Linked DNA regions of Homo sapiens: region 1 is linked to region 2. Evidence: promoter capture Hi-C in 16 types of primary human blood cells and fetal thymus (Javierre and others, 2016). All regions are on one chromosome and are shown on one strand. Each heading gives the region's core, a stretch centred on a gene start or on the middle of the fragment in contact. The rest is flanking DNA. Distances are from core to core; before and after follow the strand shown. Region 1 holds the start of SLC5A5 (solute carrier family 5 member 5). Region 2 holds the start of BST2 (bone marrow stromal cell antigen 2).

Region 1 (5,670 bases), core at 2,372-4,871, 470 kb before region 2:
GTCTCGAACCCCTGGCCTCAAGTGATCCTCCTACCTTGGCCTCTCAAAGTGCTGGGATTACAGGTATGAGCCACTGTGCCCAGTAGAATTAAACAAGTTAATAAGTGAAAAAGATTTGGAATATGACTTGACATATACGAGTGTCAGTGAGTGATTGCTGCCATTACTATTATTATTATTATTATTATATTTTTTTGAGATGGAGTCTTGCTCTGTCGCCCAGGCTGGAGTGCAATGGCGCAATCTCCACGCACCGCAACCTCCACCTCCCGGGTTCAAGCGATTCTCCTGCCTCAGCCTCCTGAGAGGCTAGGATTACAGGCGCGTGCCACTGCGCCCAGGTAATTTTTGTATTCTTAGTAGAGACGGGGTTTCATCATGTTGGCCAGGCTGGTCTCGAACTCCTGACCTTAGGTGATCCGCCTGCCTCTGCTTCCCAAAGTGCTGGGATTACAGACGTGAGCCACCGCGCCCGGCCGCCATTACTATTATTATCACTACGATGATAATATCGCCATCAAGGTCAGACCTGAGCCAGCCAAAGGTAGCCCTCCCTGGGACCTCAGCCAGCCCCAGGATGAAGCAGGAGCTCACTTCCTGCTGGACTGGAAGCCAGAAGAGGTGGAAGCCTGGATCCAGCCATGCCTGAAGCTACCATACCTCTAGATTCTCAGCAATAAGCTTTTCAGATCATTTTTCACTATAAAGATGAGGACACTGGGTCCCAGCTGGGACAGAGGCTTCCTCAGGAGAAAGGGGCAAGCCCAGAGTCTCCCCACAAGAGACACAGTGGGCCCGATCCCCCGTATGGAGTGAGTTCCCAGGGCCACTCACCACAGCCGTGTAGAAGGTGCAGATAATTCCGGTGGACAGGAGCGACGCCCAGATGTCCAGCCCGGTCACTATGCAAAAAGAGGTCCCCCTGTTAGGCCCCTGGGCGGGGCGCAAACTTAGTCTTGGGTTCTCCTCTCCCTCCCTTTCTCTTCCCAGACATGCTTCCCTAATCTCCCAGAGTCACACCTTGGTTCAGGATGAGGGCCGGTGCGTAGATTACGATGCCGGTGTACAGCATCTGTAGACAGAGTGTGGGGCGGGTGAGCAGGGAGGGCGTCTGGGCGAGTTGGGGATGGGGAGAGGAGGCAGAAGGGTGGTCCCAGAATATGGGCGGGGCAGATAGGCCGGGTCTTCCAGAGTGCAGGCGGGGTCAGGCCGGCTGTGGTGTGGGAGGGGACTGATGGGGGCGGGGTCAGAACGGGAGCATGGGGGGCGGGGTCTGGGCGGGGTCTTGAATGGTGGGGGCCGGGCTAGTGAAGGCTGACGCTCTCGGGGCCCTGAGCGGAGGGCGGGGCCGAGGCCACTCACCGTGGCTACAATGTACTGCAAAGTCCCGCAGAGCCGCACTGCGCGGCTGAAGCGCATCTCCAGGTACTGCAAGGAGGGACTCGAGGTCACCTGGACAGTCCTTACCCAGGAGCCGAGGCCTCTCGGGTCCCTGGTCTGCTCTCTAGGTGGGCCCCTCCCTCCGGAAGCCAACCGCGCCCGCCAGATTCTTGCACGTGGGGGCCCCGCCGCACGCACACACCCGTGCACAGGTGCCATCCCGTGCCTGTGCGTACCCCGTGGACCTGGAGGACTGGTCCATGCGTGTGCACGCGCCCTCCCACTTGCGCCTGACGGGCGCGGGCTCCTGGAGCAGCCACCGCTCAGCAGACACCGACGTGGCCCGCAAGCGCACAGTGTAGACAGTGCCCCGGGCCAATGGTGTTGGCCGCCTAGGATATACCTGTCACGATTTTTTTGGGGGGGAGGGGGGACGGAGTCTCGCTCTGTCGCCCAGGCTAGGGTGCACTGGCACGATCTCGGCTCACTGCAACCTCCGCCTCCCAGGTTCAAGCAATTCTTCTGCCTCAGCCTCCTGAGTAGCTGGGATTACAGGCGCGCGCGACCATGCCCGGCTAATTTTTGTATTTTTAGTAAAGACGGGGTTTCACCATGTTAGCCAGGCTGGTCTTGAACTCCTGACCTCGTGATCCACCCACCTCGGCCTCCCAAAGTGCTGGGATTACAGGCGTGAGCCACTGCGCCCTGCCACAATATTTTTTTTTCCTTTGAGACAAGAGTCTCGCTCTGTCGCCCAGGCTGGAGTGCAGTGACGCGATATCGGCTCACTGCAACCTCCCGGGTTCAAGCAATTCTCCTGTCTTAGCCTCCCAAGTAGCTGGGATTACAGGTGCCCACCACCACATCCGGCTAATTTTTGTATTTTTAGTAGAGACGGGGTTTCGCCATGTTGGCCAGGCTGGTCTTGAACTCCTGACCTCAGGTGATCTGCATGCTTTGGCCTCCCAAAGTGCTGGGATTACAGGCGTGAGCCACCGCACCGGGCCCCGGTCACGATTTTAATCGCTTTACCCTCTCCCCTGGAGGGAGGTCCTGTAATTCGCCCATTGGACAGCTGGGAAACCCAAACAGAGAGGCACGCCCCTTGCCCAAGATACAAGAAAGCAGTGAAGCCAGGTTTCGAACCCCGGAGCCGTCAGCAGTCCCCTCTAGCGCGCACACGTGGGTCTGCACGCCCGGGCAGGTGGGGGGCAGGTGTGTGTCCACCCGTGAGGACACACCTGGTCGAGCCGGGCCCCGCCCCGCGCGCGCTTCCACCGAAGGAGCAGGACGCCAGGCTCTCTCTTCCTCCTTCCTGCCCCTCGCCGGGCGCCTGGGGCCTCTTCCTAGAACCCTCCCCACGTGTCTGCCTAGGGGCCCCTTCCGTTAAAGCACCGAGGTGCCATCCGCGTCCTCCTGTACAGCGGCCCAAAGCCCCAGCGCCTCCCCCACACGGGGTCCCAGCACTGCCAGTGGGGCAGGTCCTACCCCCGGGCCTCTGTCCGGTACCTCGTAGGTGCTGGTGAGGCCCAGGCGGTAGAAGACGGGCATGAAGAGCAGGGCGGTGAGGACCGAGTTCAGAAGCTGGCCCAGGCACATCCAGAGGAACTTGAGGCCATAGCGATAGGCCTCCGACGGCACGCCCAGCACCTGCACGGCCGACATGAAGCTGGCAGACAGCGACAGGCCCACGGGCAGGGCCGCCAGGCGCCGGCCCCCGGTGAAGAAGTCCTCAGCGCTGCGCTGCCCGCCCCGAGCCAGCCCGACCCACAGCCCGATGCCAGTGGACACCAGGAGCATGAGGGCAAAGACCCCGTAGTCCCAGGCTCCGAAGGTGGGCCGTTCCCCGGTCTCCACGGCCTCCATGAGGGCGGGTGCGGAGGCCCAGCGCGTCCTCGGACGCCCTGCGTGCTCAAGCGGGGGAAGCTGGCAGGGGCCGAGGAGGCAGGACGGGGAGGGCGGGTGGGAGGATGCTCGGCAGCCTGTCCCCGCTCCGTCTGGGGTGGGAAGCGGCGAGAGGGGCCGGGGCTCCCTGGGTTAGGAATCTATGGGCTGTCGATGTCCGTGTCGGCCTCCCTGTCCCCGCTGTCTGTCTCTGCGTCCGCCCCTGCTGTCTGTCTGTCCTGCCACCTCCCCTCTCACTCTGGGTTCCGCTGTCCCATGCAGCCGGCTGTCTGTCCCTCTCCCTGGGCGCTGTGCTCAGCGCTGACAGCTGGAGGTCGCCTTGGGGCTTACGGGAGCAGCTCGTGATTGTGGGTTGCAGATTTATTGGGCTCCCGGGTCACCGCGACTCCGCCTCCAGACCTAGGGGCGGGCAGGACCCGCACCCTTTCAGCCCTGGACTGGGACAGACAGGCCAGGACAGGCTATCTGGGTGGCTGCAGGGGGTGGTATCGGGGAGGGCTCCCAAATGCCCCTCCATCCCCATGCACCCACCCATCCCCATGCACTGTGATCCCCTGATCACAGCTGTCACTGTCTGCTGTTGACAGGTGGGGAAATTGAGGCTCAGAGAGGGCATGTCACTATCCAAGCCTGCACAGCCTGCTTCAGCACTCAAAGCCGTATTGTGCTTGAATACCTTGAGCTATGGGGAGCTCACTTTCATGCAGGACTGGGGTTCACTTTCAGGGTTTCAGGGGACCCATAAAGAAAACTTACCTGGCTTTACCACCCCCAAACTGGCATGTGGGCCTACCCCCTTTCTCTAGAGCCTTAGGGGGTGGGCATCACTGAACCCCGCTCTTGGGCTAAGCTGGGTGGGAGACATTCAGAGCTCAAGTTCTGAGTGGGTACATACTTGGGGAAGACTTTGCTCCTCCCTGGGCCTTAGTTTCCCCATCTGTAACAAGGATAAAATAGACCCTGCCTCAGAGGAATAAATGGGACGTGGTAACGAAAGCCTGGTACATGATAAGTGCCTCATTCATTTATTCCTTTATTCATTTGTCACTTCATTCATTCATTCATTGGTTCCTTTGCAGATATGCACTGAGAGTTGGCCCTGTGCCAGGCATAAATGGCTCACTGAGGTGGTGCGAGGGGCCTTTAAGGTTATGAACCCGAATAAGCGGAGACCATGACCACCAGGGAGGTAGAGTCTGGCTTGTCCCTATCATATAGATGAGGAAACCAAGGTTGGGTGTGGGAGAAAGTCTACTGGGGGGGTCACGCTTCCATGAGGACCAACGAGCTGTCATCTCAGGGCCCTTCTCTGGGGGACCCAGGAGGACTTTGACCTCTGGAGGTTCTGGTCTCTGGGTTCAAGTCTCAGCTCAGCCTCCAACTTTCTGGGCAATCACGCATCTCAAACTTGGTTCCCTTCTCCATAAGCTGGTGGAATCTGAAATCCTGGGGGTTGAAAGAAACAGCGTCAGAGGCCGGGCATGATGGCTTATGCCTGTAATCCCAGCACTTTGGGAGGCTGAAGTGGGAGGATCATTTGAGTCCCAGAATTCGAGACTACCCTGAGCAACATAGTGAGATCTTGTCTGTATGAAAAATACAAATATTAGCGAGGCGTGGTGGCACATGCCTGTAATCCCAGCTACTCAGGAGGCTGAAGTGGGAGGATCGCTTGAGCGTGGAAGTTCGAGGCTGCAATGAGCTGTGGTCGAGAACTGCACAGCACTCCAGCCTGGGCAGCACAGCAAGACCCCGTCTCCAAAAAAAAAAAAAAAAAAAAAAAAAGGGCTTTTGAGCGCTTCTCGCCAGCCTCTGCTGCTCCCTGGTGGCCTCCTCTGGCCTACCCTCTGCCCTGGCCGCTCCAGCTGGGTCCAGCGTTTCTCAACGCGTCCCCACGTAACCCCCGGACAGTCCTCTTGCTCCCTCTCTGCTGTGCAGGGTGGACCTGTCCCTCCCCCGGGGCTGTGACACTGCGGCGGCTACGCGGGCACCTGTTGCCGGCTGGAGCGTACCTCCTGCCCTCGCCAGGAGAGTGGGTTAGGCACCTAGTTCTTTCTCCTTCCACCCTGGTCAGGCATCCTCCTGGAAACCCCGTTGGAAAAGGGGAGATCCGGCCGGGTGCGGTGTCTCACTCCTGTAATCCCAGCACTTTGGGGGGCCGAGGCGGACGGGTCTCTTGAGATCCGTTCAAGACCAGTCTGGCCAACATGGTGAAACCCCGTCTCTACTAAAAATACAAGAATTAGCCGGGCGTGGTGGCGGCCGCCTGTAATCCCAGCTACTTGGGAGGCTGAGGCGGGAGAATCGCTTGAGCCCGGGAGGTGGAGGTTGCAGTGAGCCGAGATCGCGCCACTTCACTCCAGCCTGGGCGACAGAGAGAGATTC
Region 2 (5,765 bases), core at 3,058-5,557:
AAATACAAAAATTAGCTGGGCGTGGTGGCGGGTACCTGTAATCCCAGCTACTCAGGAGACTGAGGCAGCAGGATTGCTTGAACCCAGGAGGCGGAGGTCAGAGGTTGCAGTGAGACGAGATCGTGCCAATGCACCCCAGCCTGAGAGACAGACCGAGACTCCATCTCAAAGAAAAAAACAAAAAAAGGCTGGGTGCGGTGGCTCAAGCCTGTAACCCCAGCAATTTGGGAGGCCGAGGCGGGCAGATCACCTGAGGTCGGGAGTTTGAGACCAGCCTGGCCAACATGGAGAAACCTAAACCTCTCTACTAAAAATACAAAATTAGCCGGGCATGGTGGCGCATGCCTGTAATCCCAGCTACTAGGGAGGCTGAGGCAGGAGAATTGTTTGAACCCAGGAGGCAGAGGTTGTGGTGAGCTAAGATTGCATCATTGCACTCCACCCTGGGTAACAAGAGTGAAATTCCATCTCAAAAAAAAAAAAAAAAAAAAAAAAGTAATGGCAGAGGCTGGGAGCGGTGGCTCATGCCTGTAATCCCAGCACTTTGGGAGGCCAAGTCGGGTGGATCCCTTGAGGTCGGGAGTTCGAGACCAGCCTGGCCAACATGTCGAAACCCCGTCTCTCCTAAAAATACAAAAAGTAGCTGGGCATGGTGGCAGGCATCTGTAGTCCCAGCTACTCAGGAGGCTGAGGCAGAAGAATCACTTCAACCCAGGAGGCAGAGGTTGCAGTGAGCCGAGATTACACCACTGCACTCCAGCCTGGGTGACAGAGGGAGAATATATTTAAAAATATAAAATAAAATATAGGCCGGGCACGGTGGCTCACGCTTGTAATCCCAGTACTTGGTGAGTCCAAGTTGGGTGGATCACCTGAGGTCAGAAGTTTGAGACCAGCCTGGCCAACATGGCGAAACCCCATCTCTACTAAAAATGCAAAAAGTAGCCAGGCATGGTGGCAGGCATCTGTAGTCCCAGCTACTCAGGAGGCTGAGGCAGGAGAATCGCTTCAACCCAGGAGGCAGAGGTTGTAGTGATCGAGATCGTACCACTGCACTCCAGCCTGGGCGACAGAGAGAGATTCCCTCTCAAAAAAAAAAAAAAAAAAGTAATGGCAGAAACCGCAATTACTTTTGCACCAACCAATATATAAAAATACATTATATATTTAAAAATATAAAATAAAATATAGGCCAGGTGCAGTGGCTCACGCCTGTAATCCCAGCACTTTGGGAGGCTGAGTCAGACAGATCACCTGAGGTCAGGAGTTCAAGACCAGCCTGGTCAACATGGCAAAACCCTGTCTCTACTAAAAGTACAAAAATAAGCCAGGCATGGCGGTGGGCGCCTGTAATCCCAGCTACTCAGGAGGCTGAGGCAGGGGAATCGCTTGAACTCCGGAGGCAGAGGTTGCAGTGAGCCAAGATCGTGCCACTGCACTCCAGCCTGGGCAACAAGAGCGAGACTCCATCTCAAAAAAAATTAATTAATTAATTAATTAATTAAAACAAAATAAAATAAATATATGTACTTAAAATATATATATATATTTATTTTTAAATAGGGATAGGATCTCTCTATGTTGACCAGGCTGGTCTCGAACTACTGGCCTCAAGCAATCTTCCCATCTCAGCCTCCCAAAGTACTAGGATTGCAGGCATGAGCCACTGCACCCATCCCACCATTTGTAATTGTGGGCGGCAAGCCACCCAGGTGCCAAGGCAAGAGACTGAGGACACGAGCTGTTCCAGTATAATAAAATATAAAACAAGAATAGTTATACCAAATATAGATCTTAGAGATATATGAATATCATTAATCATTAGTTTGTAGTAATTACTCTTTATCCCAATAGTATAATAATCCTCGGTCTACAATCATAACCTAGGAAAAACCAGGCCATACAGAGATAGGAGCTGAGGGGACATAGTGAGGTGTGACCAGAAGACAAGAGTGCAAGCCTTCTGTTATGCCCGGACAGGGCCAGCAGAAGGGCTCCTTGGTCTAGCGGTGACGCCAGCGTCTGGGAAGACGCCCGTTGCCCGAGCGGACAGTGGTCTAGCGGTAGCGAAAAGTGTCAAGGAACAACACCCACTACTTAGCAGACCGGGAAAGGGAGGCTCCTTTTCCCTGGGGGAGTTTGGAGAAGACTCTGCTCCTCCACCTCTTGTGGAGGGCCTGACATCAGTCAGGCTCGCCCGCGGTTATCTGGCAGCCTAACCGTCTCCCTGTGATGCTGTGCTTCAGTGGTCACGCTCCTAGTCCGCCTTCATGTTCCATCCTGTACACCTGGCTCTGCCTTCTAGATAGCAGTAGTCATTTAGTGAAAGTACTAAAAGTCTCTGATATGCAGAAATAATGGCATAAGCTGTCTTTCTGTCTGTCCCCTCTCTCTCTCTCTGCCTCGGCTGCCAGGCAGGGAAGGGCCCCCTGTCCAGTGGACACGTGACCCACGTGACCTTACCTATCATTGGAGATGACTCACACTCTTTACCCTGCCCCTTTTGCTTTGTATCCAATAAATAACAGCACAGCCAGACATTCGGGGCCACTACCAGTCTCCGCGCATTGCTGGTAGTGGTCCCCCGGGCCCAGCTGTCTTTTCTTTTATCTCTTCGTCTTGTGTCTTTATTTCTACACTCTCTCGTCGCCGCACACAGGGAGAGACCCACTGACCCTGTGGGGCTGGTCCCTACAGTAATTTTAAAGGGAAGAGCAACAAACTTTCGGTTTGCAGGGCTGGGACTGTTTACAGCTGCAAAATTTAGAGAGGACATCAATCTATTATTATCCACATTTTACAGCTGGGGAAATCAATGCTAAGAGAGGAAATTCATTTGCCCAGAGGTGCACCACCCTGGCCTCCAATGTGCAATTCATGCAATTGTGATTTCCGACCTGGTCCCAAACTAACCCTAAAGTTAGCAGGCCAGAACAGTGCTGCTCAAATAAGTCAGCTTAGTCAAATAAGTCAGGCAAAGGTCGTGTCTTTGCACCTGGAGTCCTGGCCAGGCTGGTAGGTCCCTCCTCCTGGGACAAGTTCACCCTCAGAATTTTCAGCAAGATCATCTCCCACAGCTTGTTAATTGGTTCTTGGTTCTAAGTGATTTTTTTGTTTATTGGTTTAAGAGATGGGATCCCACTCTATCACCCAGGCTTGAGTGCCGTGGCACAATCATAGCTCGCTGCAGCCTCAAACTCCTGGGCTCGAGTGATCCTCCTGCCTCAGCCTCCCAGCCTCAGCCTGGGACCACAGGCATGTACCACCATGCCTGGCTCTAAGTGGCTTTAATGGGGTCCTTCTGAGGGATGTTGGAGTCAGGGCCTGGGGGGAGTTCCCCAGGCCTTCTGGGAGGCCTGGGCTCTGGACTTGACCTCGCCTACTGTCTGGCCCTGCTGAAAAGAAAAAAAAACATGGAAATGGCAGACCTAACAGAATCTGGGCTGTGGTCAGGATGTGGCTGAAGAAGCCACAAGAAAAACATGCAGTCCCCTTTCAGCGGTCATGCCCAGCAGTTGGGTGCCGATAATGGGCCTGATTTCCTGTAGGAAGCCCTGGCTCTCTTGGCCACATGGACAGTGTCTGAGGCTGGCCCTGTTATTCCCCTTTGCAGATGAAGAAACAGGCTCAGAGAGTTTACCTGGTATCCTGGAGTCCCAGGAGCACTTTTTCTGGAAGTAGGAGCTTGTTTCCTGCAGGTGCCAAGACAGAGACCGACATTGTTTGTTGGCTGGGTCGGTCTCCCAGTTTTCAGCTGGCTCCAGTCTCACCTGTTGCTCACACACCCTCCATGTCTCCCATAGTCCCCTCGGTGGGGACAGAGGCACTGGATGAAGCCCTGCTCGTCACCACAGAGACACCTGAACACAAAAACCAGTCCCTGGGGTCAGACCCAGGCCCCGCCCCCAGACCCAGGCCCTGCCCTCACTCCACCACGCAACTGTGCAACCTCAGTTTCCCCAGGTGGAGACCGGACCAACAGTGATGGCCTCTGCCTCTTCAGGTCATAGTACAGATGAATACAGGCTGGCACGGCCTAGGCACTCAGTAACACACAGCAGAGGCACAGGGACTTAAGATGGAGTGTCCCAGGCAGCCACAGTTGGCTGGCACCCAGCTGGGAAGGGCCCAAGGGCTTTTAAAGCAGGGTGAAAAAAAAGCCCACCTCCTTTCTGGGAAACTGAAACTGAAAACCTAATTAATCCTCTGCCTGTAGGTGCCTCATGCAAGAGCTGCTGGTCAGAGCACTTCCTGGAACTTGCTATTGGTCAGGACGTTTCCTATGCTAATAAAGGGGTGGCCCGTAGAAGATTCCAGCACCCTCCCCTAACTCCAGGCCAGACTCTAAAGGGGAGATCTGGATGGCATCTACTTCGTATGACTATTGCAGAGTGCCCATGGAAGACGGGGATAAGCGCTGTAAGCTTCTGCTGGGGATAGGAATTCTGGTGCTCCTGATCATCGTGATTCTGGGGGTGCCCTTGATTATCTTCACCATCAAGGCCAACAGCGAGGCCTGCCGGGACGGCCTTCGGGCAGTGATGGAGTGTCGCAATGTCACCCATCTCCTGCAACAAGAGCTGACCGAGGCCCAGAAGGGCTTTCAGGATGTGGAGGCCCAGGCCGCCACCTGCAACCACACTGTGGTAAGCTCCTCAACTCCTTTGGATGGCCTAGTACTAGGCGGTGGGAGGGACAAGAATCTCTCCCCAGAAATCTGACCCAGGGTGGGTCTCCAGGGAGATGCAGGGGAGGTCCTGAAACTGCTCCTGGGCCCCCACATCAAGGGACCTAGGTTCCCCTACCAGGGTTTGTGGGCCCCTAACCCAGTCCAGGGCACTGGTGTAGGGGCAGGGTGTTAAAACTCTCCAGATCCCCCAAATCGGGGACCTCAGTATCCCCCTGGGACTTAGGTGAATTTATAAATTCTTTCCAGGGCACTGGTGTCGGGGGCCTTGAAACTCCTCGTGGGCACCAGTCCTGGGGGAGTAGAAATCCCTATTCAGGGTTGAAGGGGGACCTCACCAGACCCTGAAAAAGGGGGCTTTTGAAATTTTCACTTCATCCCTAAGAAACTGAAATATTCACCTGGGTCCTGATATGGGGGATCTTGAAACTCTCGCTGGGCATGTCACTTGGGCGGGGAAATCCCACTGCATTCTGGATTTGGTAGGGCCCTCTAACTTTTCTTGGGCCATTGCTCAGGCAATCTGGAAATGTCCACTAAACTTTGGTTATCGATAGCCTCCAAGTTTCCACGTGGGGTGGCCTCAAAACTCCCATTTTGAGGACCCACATGCTTATGGGTGGCCCTGGGAGAGTGTGTGGTTGTGGCTGTTCTTTAAGGTTGGAGACCATGGTGCAGAGAGGGTTGGAAGAAAACCTGAAAGGGGTTTGCATTTAAGCCCCTCTGTCCCCAGGACCTAGGGAGGAGGCCCAGGTCCCAGGGGCAGCAGCCAAACTCCCCAGGCCAAAACCCCAGATTCTAACTCTTCTTAGATGGCCCTAATGGCTTCCCTGGATGCAGAGAAGGCCCAAGGACAAAAGAAAGTGGAGGAGCTTGAGGGTGAGAAAGGGAGAAGGGAGAGGGCCGGGGAGGGGTGAGTCAGGTATGGAAGAGGGGGTGGGGGCAGGGAGACCAGGGCTGGAGGTTGGGGTAAGGGGGAGGTTCTGTCCCAGAGTGGAGCAGGGCCCCAGCATGGCCACATGCTGACCCGCCCCCTGTTTCTGTCCTCCCACCCTACCAGGAGAGATCACTACATTAA

The links. The method cuts DNA at HindIII sites, captures the fragments that hold promoters and counts their contacts. A CHiCAGO score of 5 or more calls a contact.
Region 1: a contact is called between the fragment with the promoter of SLC5A5 here and the fragment with the promoter of BST2 in region 2, in 5 of 17 cell types (naive CD8 T cells, fetal thymus, non-activated CD4 T cells and 2 more). The highest score is 9.3, in naive CD8 T cells.

What each region holds. Positions count from the first base shown.
Region 1 is chr19:17,869,896-17,875,565 of GRCh38, reverse strand. It overlaps SLC5A5 (solute carrier family 5 member 5), which reads right to left and starts at 3,621. Exons shown (of 15, transcript NM_000453.3): 1 at 2,890-3,621; 2 at 1,363-1,428; 3 at 1,021-1,072; 4 at 835-902. The coding sequence starts at 3,246. RefSeq lists a silencer at 1,157-1,286 and enhancers at 1,079-1,851, 5,499-5,670. The HindIII fragment of the contact is 10,072 bases long and covers 684-5,670 here.
Region 2 is chr19:17,404,172-17,409,936 of GRCh38, reverse strand. It overlaps BST2 (bone marrow stromal cell antigen 2), which reads left to right and starts at 4,307. Exons shown (of 5, transcript NM_004335.4): 1 at 4,307-4,646; 2 at 5,500-5,566; 3 at 5,748-5,765. The coding sequence starts at 4,362. BISPR (BST2 interferon stimulated positive regulator) reads right to left here and starts at 4,251. Exons shown (of 4, transcript NR_130766.1): 1 at 4,166-4,251; 2 at 3,641-3,860. It also overlaps a transcript of MVB12A not described here. RefSeq lists enhancers at 3,296-3,345, 3,546-3,595, 3,646-3,705, 3,896-4,275, 4,346-4,405 and 2 more. The HindIII fragment of the contact is 7,369 bases long and covers 1-4,426 here.